Regions from separate parts of the Homo sapiens genome. Here region 1 is linked to region 2. The links are contacts of gene promoters, found by promoter capture Hi-C in blood cells and fetal thymus (Javierre and others, 2016). All regions are on one chromosome and are shown on one strand. The core of a region is centred on a gene start or on the middle of the fragment in contact, and the rest is flanking DNA. Distances in the headings are between cores, read along the strand shown. Region 1 has its middle 12 kb from the start of TMEM121. Region 2 holds the start of CLBA1 (clathrin binding box of aftiphilin containing 1).

What was found. Contacts are between HindIII fragments. The CHiCAGO score rates a contact against its expected background, and 5 or more counts as called.
Region 1: a contact is called between a fragment that was not itself captured here and the fragment with the promoter of CLBA1 in region 2, in 1 of 17 cell types (monocytes). The highest score is 6.0, in monocytes.

Annotation. Positions count from the first base shown.
Region 1 is chr14:105,536,658-105,541,280 of GRCh38, forward strand. It overlaps the pseudogene ATP5MC1P1. Among named protein-coding and RNA genes, the nearest start is that of TMEM121, 12 kb to the left of the region's middle. The HindIII fragment of the contact is 2,155 bases long and covers 759-2,913 here.
Region 2 is chr14:104,984,073-104,988,202 of GRCh38, forward strand. CLBA1 (clathrin binding box of aftiphilin containing 1) reads left to right here and starts at 1,716. Exons shown (of 5, transcript NM_174891.4): 1 at 1,716-2,782. The coding sequence starts at 2,360. RefSeq lists a silencer at 1,505-1,974. The HindIII fragment of the contact is 10,527 bases long and covers 1-4,130 here.

The DNA of each region.
Region 1 (4,623 bases), core at 586-3,085, 550 kb after region 2:
CATCGACTGGCGAAATTTGATATGGATGAGCACCGGCCCGTGGTTCAGGTTTTCGTAGTAAAATTTATGTGGGGGAGAATTTTTTTTTGAGAGAAACGTGTGTTTAATGGTAAAAATTAGCATACCCCATCACCAGGAATGGCGTGGAGTAGGGACGGGCAGCAGGGACAGGCAGGTGACCCCTGTGGAGCCTCACGTGGCGAGGATGAGGAAGACGACCACCAAACAGAACAGCCCCATGGCCTCAGACACAGCAAAGCCCAGAATGGCATCGGAGATGAGCTGCTGCTTGAGAAACAGATTCCCGGCATAGCCAACAAGCTGCCAGACACCGTTCCAATGCCAGGCCCGAAGCCAGCCACACCGACAGGGGCTGCCCCAACACCAATCAACGTGGCTGCTGTGTCAACATCCCGGGAGACAGCTCTGGTCTGGAACTCCCACCTGGCCACCTGGTGTGGGGAGCGGCTGTAGGAAGGCTGTTCAGATGAATTTTCTGGGCTGTTCAAGAAGGAGACAGACACAGCCTGATTAGACCCGTGGTACAACAGCGGACCAGAGCTGGAGAGGTGAGTAATGCCCGGGGGTCTGCATTTTCTGTCTGCACTCCCACTGCCCTGCAGCACCTGCGGGCCCACAGCACTCGCCCGGCTGAAGGTGACCTAAGGTGACCGACTCACTTTTACTCATTGCTTATGAAATAAGCTGAATGTGGAGATCATCGGAAACATGTTTCAAAGTGCGTGAGCCTTGAGGAAAGCTTTCTCCCGCCCTCATGAGTATCCGCCCCAGGGGGTGCTTTCCTCGAGAGCTGGTCCGTGTTGCGTTCCCACAGTGAACACTTTCAAGGCTGCTGCGGGAAGTTGCACAGAAACGGCTGGTGGGCCTGGAGGGGATGGTGAGGCGCAGTGGGCCTGTGTACCGGATGCCAAATCCACAGCATGGGAGGCAGGGCCCACTGCAGGAGCCACACAGCAGCTGTGTGCTGCTCTCCCACCTGCAACCTGCACCTGTGGGGTGCACCTGAGTGACCCCGGCCCCCCGGGGTGTCTCTGGGATGCCTCCTAGGAGGAGAGGCTCCACGCCTGGAGGGAGACAGGTATCACACAGGTGCGTGGGGTGGAGTGTGATGCAGGGAGGTTGGGGCAGGGCCACACAGAGAGACCCCACTCAGGCAGGCCTTGGGTCAGGGTAGGCCTCACCAAGTGATATTATGTTGGGACTGGACCGTGGCCAAGGCTGGCCTGCAGGCAGGGGGCACACATATTCCTGGCAGGTGAGGCTGCCCACAAAGCTCACCTGCCTGAGAACCCTACCTGGCTGGGGCATGCGGGAGCCTCTGGACCTTCGCGCCGGCGGAGCCTGCAGTGTCGCCAGATGGCCACAAGGGGGCTCCCGAGCCCGGCTCTGGGTCCCTTTGAGGAGGGAGCCGCGGGACCCGGCTGTGAGACCGGGACCTGCCAGTGGTGCCCCGACCCCCCGACCCCACAGGACCCTGCGCGGCCAAAGGCTGAGGCTGCCCCAGCCCCAGGCTGTGCTGATGCCCCTGACCAGAACCCGAGCCCGATTCTGCTCACTGAACACTCATCTGCTCCCTTGCCTCTGCCTGCCCCGGCAGCGAGGGCCTGGCCAGTGGGTTCGTATCAACTCCCACGTCACCTCCCGTGTCATCTGTGTGTCACCTCCATGTCACCTCCTGCATCAGCTGTGTCACCTCCCACATCACCTGCATCAGCTGTGTCACCTCCCACATCCCCTGCATCAGCTCTGTGTCACCTCCCACATCACCTGCATCAGCTCTGTGTCACCTCCCGCATCACCTGCATCAGCTCTGTGTCACCTCCCGCATCACCTGCATCAGCTCTGTGTCACCTCCCGCATCACCTCCTGCGCCACCTTTGTGTCACCTCCCGGCTGACCATGGCCCAGCAGCATCTCCCTGTTGCAGCGTCCGGAGAGGCTGCGGTTGCACGGGGTGGGCTAAGGAAGGTGGGGCTGCCTCAGCCTGGGCCCTGAGTGAGCTCTGGAGTGGATCCCACCTCCCCACCAAAGCCCAAGCAGGAGACAACCCTTTGCTGCTGAAGCCACTGAGCGCTTGGGGCTGTTTGTTTCGGCCTCGTCCCCGACGGACGTGTCTCCCACAGTCCCAGGCCCTGAGTGCAGGTCCACACTGAACCTTGACGCTCATCGCAGACTGACCCTGGCTTGCCCTGGGTCACACTCGGGCTGAGGCCCCGACAGCCTGGCCCGGTCGAAGCTCCCCGGCTTATCTCACTCACTGTTGTCCAGGGCCCAGCCTCACGGTGACATCTGCCACAAGAAGGCTGGGACTCTGTCCCACTTGTGTTCAGGAACGAGAGACCCTGACTTGGTGTCTGTTATCAACACATTACAAACATCACTGGGCATTACAAAAGATTTCTGAGGGCTGGGTGCTGTGGCTCACCCCTGCAATCCCAGCACTTTGGGAGGCTGAGGTGGGAGGAGGATTGCTTGAGCCCAGGAGTTTGAGACCAGCCTGGGCAATGTAGTGAGACCTTGTCTCTAAAAAAATTTTAAAAATTAGCCAGGCATGGTTGCGCGTGCCTGTGGTCCCAGCTACTCAGGAGGCTGAGGCAGGAGGATCACCTGAGCCCAGGAGGTCAAGGCTACAGCAAGCAGAGATGGTGCCACTGCACTCCAGCCTGGACAACATAGCAAGACCCTGTCTCAAGAAAACCCACACAAAACACAAAGAAAGAAATAAAAATCCAGATTTCAAATAATTTAAACTTATTTATCCAACACAAAGCAGTTCTTCATGGCACACTTTAAACTTCGAAATTCTTTGCTCTCCCCATGCTTGGCTGATTGGGTCTGGGGCAGGCGATGGTGCTCACTGGATCCAGTTTCTGACAAATCTGGATTGAGACAAGCTTCAGAACTGGCCCAGATGATCAATTTTCATATAAGTTAAGGTGTCCTCCTTGTTCCACAGCTTTTAGTGATTTTTTTTTGTTTTTTTTTTTTGAGACGGAGTCTTGCTTTCTCGCCAGGCTGGAGTGCAGTGGTGCGATCTTGGCTCATTGCAACCTCCGCCTCCTGGGTTCAAGCGATTCTCCTGCCTCAGCCTTCTGAGTAGCCGGGAGTACAGGCACATGCCACCACACTCGGCTAATTTTTTGTATTTTTAGTAGAGATGGGGTTTCACCGTGTTAGCCAGGATGGTCTCGATCTCCTGACCTCGTGATCCGCCCGCCTCGGCCTCCTAAAGTGCTGGGATTACAGGCGTGAGCCACCACACCTGGCGCTTTTAGGTGATTTGATAATACATTTTTCTGTTAAAATTTTATGATACATAATATAGAAAGAATCTACGTAAAATGATGTCCATGCATTTATGCACACAGAGCCCACTTTGAGAGACAGAATATGAGGGCCTTTGGTCCTGCCAGGAGCAAAGAAAGTTAATAAAAAATCAAGTCTGGGCCAGGGGTGGTGGCTCATGCCTGTAATCCCAGCACTTTGGGAGGCCGAGGCAGGCGGATCACCTGAGGTCAGGGGTTCAAGACCAGCCTGGCCAACATGGTGAAACCCCATCTCTACTAAAAATATAAAAATTAGCCAGGCGTGGTGACATACGTCTGTAGTCCCAGCTACTCGGGAGTCTGAGGCAGGAGAATCACTTGAACCCAGGAGGCAGAGGTTGCAGTGAGCCGAGATCGCGCCACTGCACTCCAGCCTGGGCGACAAGAGTGAGGCTCTGTCTCAAAAACAAAACACAAACAAAAAAAATCAACTCTGGGCCAGGTGTGGTGGCTTGCGCCTATAATTCCAGCACTTTGGGAGGCTGAGGCAGGAGGATCGCTTGAGCCCAGGAGTTCCAGACCAGCCTGGGCAGCATGGCAATACCTTGTCACTACAAAAAATTTTAAAACTTAGCAGGGCATAGTGGTGTGCACCTGTAGTCCCAGGTACTTGGGAGGCTGAGGTGGGAGGATACCTTGAGCCCAGGAGGTGGAGGCTGGAATGAGCTATGATTGCACCACTGCACTCCAGTCTGGGTGACAGAGCAAGACCCTGTCTCAAAAAAATGAAAAAAATCACCCTGGAGAACCTGTATTTATAGGAAGACATATTGATTCCAGCGGCAAACGCTTAGGGCTGCAGAGCCCTGGGCAGGCTGGATGCTGTCTTGGCCCCATGTGGGGTGAGGGCTGCAGATTGTGGTGGAGGCCCCGGGGAGGCAGAGGGAACCCTCGGGAACCATTTCCCTGCCTTCTGCTCTCGTGACTGACCTTTTCTTGGCGAAACTTGGTGGGGGCAGCTGGGCCTCTGCCACTGGCATCCTTTGGATGCTTCCTGGTGGTGGCAACCCTGTGGGGAGGAGTTGGGGAACCTGTGGGCCAACGCGGCTCCGTGAGCCTCATCAGGCTGCAGGGCACCTTGGTTCTCCCTTCCTGACCCCTCTCTGCCCGTCTCCTTTCTGCTCTGTTTGTCAGATTTTTTTTTCTCATTTTGATTCCATTTTGTTTCTGACAACTTTCCCAAGACCATTGCTCCTCCAGAGGCGGCTGGGTCCACACAGCTTCCCTTTGTGCCGGACCCTCGCCTTGCTGGGTCTTGGGCTGCAAAGCTCGGATG
Region 2 (4,130 bases), core at 466-2,965:
ACCCTGGGAGTACTGTGCTCCCCACGCTCTTCACGTGGAAGCTGAGGCCCAGACGGGGGTGGGGAATTGCAGAGAACGAGGAGAGCAGCTCCTGTCCCAGCTCTGCTTCTCACGCAGGCCTTTGGGGTGGGGCCTCAGTTTCCCCACCTGTACACAAGGACAACACTCCTCCTGCCCCCCTCCCAGCTCCCTGGGCCTCAAGGACGGCAAGGACGTGCAGTGGATGAGGGGCAGCAGTGGGAACGGACACTGCCCTTAAGCTGGCAAGACAGGCCCAGGCCTGGTCTACAAACCCAGCCAGCTCCTGATCACCATCCTTAGGGTCACTGCGGTGCTGGGGTGGCCAAGCCAAGATCCAGTCCTGGGCAGTCTGACCGAAGAGCTTCCATACTGCATGGCCCGGCTGCTCTGCCCCTCAGGAAGGAGCGGGGACAGGAGGCTGGGTCTAAGGTGCAGAGAATGATCTCATCTTGTCATTTGTAAAATTAAATTGTTCTGTAGCTTGGCTGAGAAGGACCAGGGAGGGAAGGGGTGATTCAAGCAAGGACAGAGTCCAGGCAGGGCCCCAGGCCCCAGGGTGGGAGAAATGCGAGCCTGAGGTAGATAGGGGGTGGACAGTAGGTGGCATGGTTCAGGGCTTCACCAGGGCCAGGCCCTCCCCTTACCCAGAGGAGGCAGTGATGGGGGCCAGTCTGGGAAGGCCAGGGAGGAGATGGAGTCAAGGTTGACTCCTTGAGTCTGGGGGTGAGGGCAGATGGCAGAAGGCCTGGAAGCCCGGAGGGGAGCTGCCAGAGGCCAGCCTAGCTCCTTGGTCGTCCAGTGGCTGGAGAGGGGCTGTCCGTCAGCCCTGCTCTGCCCGGGTCTGGCTGGTGACAAAGGAGGGGAGCACTCCATGCGGCCTGCGAGGGAGGGGTGGAGCCTCCCCGCAGCTCCTTCCCCCAGGAATGGGGACGAGTTAGGGGCGGGCGAGGTTTTGGGATTCAGGAGTCAGCAAGACGGACTTGGCTCTCGCCAGGGACAGGTGGGGTCCTGAGGGGCCGTCGCTCAGCTGCACCCACAGAGGGGTCGGCGGCGCGGCAAGTTAGGCTGCGGGGCGCCGGGAGAAGGGGCTGCGGGTGACGGGTGCGCTGGGACGGACCTGGGGAGCTCGTCGTGAGGAAGAAAGAACCACTCTAGGGCCAGGCCCAGTGGCTCAAGCCTGTAATCCCAGCACTTTGGGAGGCCGAGGCGGGCGGATCACGAGGTCAGGAAATCGAGACCATCCTGGCTAACACGGTGAAACCCAGTCTCTATTAAAATACAAAAAAATCAGCCGGGCGTGGTGGCGGGCGCCTGTAGTCCCAGCTACTCGGGAGGCTGAGGCAGGAGAATGGCGTGAACCCGGGAGGCGGAGCTTGCAGTGAGTCGAGATCGCGCCACTGCTCTCCAGCCTGGGCGACAGAGCGAGACTCCGTCTCAAAAAAAAAAGAAAAAAAAAAAAAAGAAAGAACCACTCGGGCGGCGAACTGAGCACGGACAGAAAGCTCGAGCGGCCCGGCGCCCAGGGCTCGGCCAGTGTGGAAGCCCGATCCCACCCGCAGCGGAGGCGGCCCGGGGCAGGGAGGGCGGGTCCGGGGCGGGTCCTGAACGGCGGGGGCCGGCGCTGGCCTCGCCCCGGATGCGTGCTGACGCCACGGCGACGGACGCCGGAAGCGGAGCTGGCGCACGCCGTTGCCAGGCAACGGGGCGGCGCAGGCAGGAGGGAACGGCTGGTTGCAGGTTTCTCTCGCCCTGGTCCCGCGCGGCCCCGCCGAGGCGGCGACCAAGGTGGGTGCGGGGACTCTCGGGAGCCGTGGGCCAGGCGCTTAGCCGGCCACCTCGGGCCCTGTCCAGGCCCAGGCGTTCCAGGGCTGCTCTGCGGGCCGCGTGCGAGAGGGACTCTCGGGAGGCCCCGGGGCGCCGCACCCACTCCTTCCCACTTGGGACTCCCGCGGGCGCCCGGCTCTCGCTCCTCTGGCCAGCGTGGGCCTCCCAGGCCCCCTCGCGGCTCTCTCCAGAGCAGGAGCCCCACCTTGGGCCGCCCCTCTCACACCTGCCGTGGGTCTGGTACGCGCCTCTGTGTCGGACTCCGCGCCCGCCTGCGTGGGAGGAAGCCAGGACTCCCGGGCGACCGGGCCATTCCTGTGGTTTGTGTCAGTTCCACAGCAGCACGTGGGCACTTTCCACCGTCAGCCACTGGGCAGCCCGGGGCACTCCTGCAGCGTCCCCTGGCCCTCTCCAGGGCAGGGGAAGGTTGGGCAGTCCTGGGCGGCCAGCACCCCGGCGTGCATGTCTCCTGAGCAGCTGCCCATCGGGCCTCTGCTGGCCTGGGGGCTCCAAGATGCAAGGCCGGCGGGAGCTGGGGGGAGAGCCTTTGAGTGACCTCCAGGAGGAAGCAGCCAGCGCTTCCCTCCGAGTGGCACCTGAGAGGCTGAGTGATGACAGTTTGGAATGGAGACGGACCTGCCCCGACCTTCTCCTGTCCGATGGGAAAGCCAGCATCTCCATGCCCCGTGAGGGCGGTTCCACCTGCACTGCCCGATGTCCTGACCCTGGGGAACACAGCAGCACTTGGGGGGAGTTTGAAGGCTTTCGGGAATCTTCAGCCAAGTCTGGACAATTCTCACAGTCCCTTGAACTCCTCGAGGGACCCACAGAACCCCAGCCACCGAGAACCACTTCTGCCCCAAAAGAGTGCAGTTCTCACCAACCATGCCAGGGTGGACCTTGGGTGACAGGAACTTCTGCCGTCCCACCTTCTGAGGTATTTCTGCTGTGCTGTGGTCACCATGTTGAGTGGGACGTGTACACACCAAGAGGCCTACAGCCCTCGAATGCTGTGGCGTGCTGGCCAGGGAGGGGGCTGACAGCCCCAGAGCGTCTGCTTCTCTCCTGGCCTTCGTCCCTGGCCATGTGGTTGGCAGTCCCATCCTGAGGCCAGGGAAGCAATGAGTTGGCAGAGGAGGCTGCAGAAATGGGTCACACGAAGGCCAGGTGGGGGCCACCTGAGCTGGGTCGCTCTTTCTGACCATTCCTCCCCCAGCCTGTCCATTCCCCATTGGTGGGGGCTGCACTGGCCCCAGCTCAGGGCATTTGAGGAGGAGCTTTTTGTCTGAATTCTGAATCTGCTGAGTTCAAAAGTCTCAGAGATTCTAAAATCACATGATCACATTTCAACTTGCTTGTAATGAATTGGGTGACGCGGGATCCAACCTGTCCGGGAGCTTGTAATGAATTGGGTGATGCCCATTCCGACCTGTCCGGGAGCCAGGGTCCCAGCCTTCAGGCCCCTGCCCCCTGCTCTCTTTCAGAGCAGACTGTGGGTGTTTACCGTTTGGTGACACTTCCGCTCCTTCTCTTTTCCTGTCTTCTTCCTTCCATTGTTCCTCTTTCTCTGCCACTTCTTCCCAAATGGTTCATCCCAAGCACCATCATGAGAGATCAGAAATAAAACCAGTGAGGAAGGAAATAAAGATATTGTAGTTCTCAGGGCTGGCCTGTTTTCTCTTCCTTTTCTTTTTTTTTTTTTTTTTTTTTTTTTTTTTTTGAGACAGCCTCACTCTGTCGCTGAGGCTGGAGTGCAGTGGCACTGTGTCGGCTCACTGCAACCTCTGTCTCCTGGGTTCAAGCAGTTCTCCTGCCTTAGCCTCCTGAGTAGCTGGGATTACAGGCATCCACCACCACGCCCGGCTAACTTTTTATATATATATATATATATGTATGTTTAGTAGAGACTGGGTTTTACCATGTTTGCCAGGCTGGTCTTGAACTCCTGACCTCAGGTGATCCGCCCGCCTCGGCCTCTCAAAGTGCTGGGATTACAGGCGTGAGCCACCATGCCCGGCCGGACTGTTTTCTGAAGCAGTTTCCCTGGAATCCTGATGAGATCCACTCTTAATAGAGTAAGGTCTGCTGTAATGCTTGTTTTGAATACAGGATTTGTTTTCCAGCGTGATTGATGTATTAGGGAACAATTAGAGCATAGTTGAAATTTCACAAGAAAGAGTAGATAAATGCAGAAAACTGCCCCCAGCTGAGCTGGGGCCCGTTGGAATACATGAGACTCGCACACGTACACCCTCACACAGCGCTTAGTGCCCCAATGTAGCACA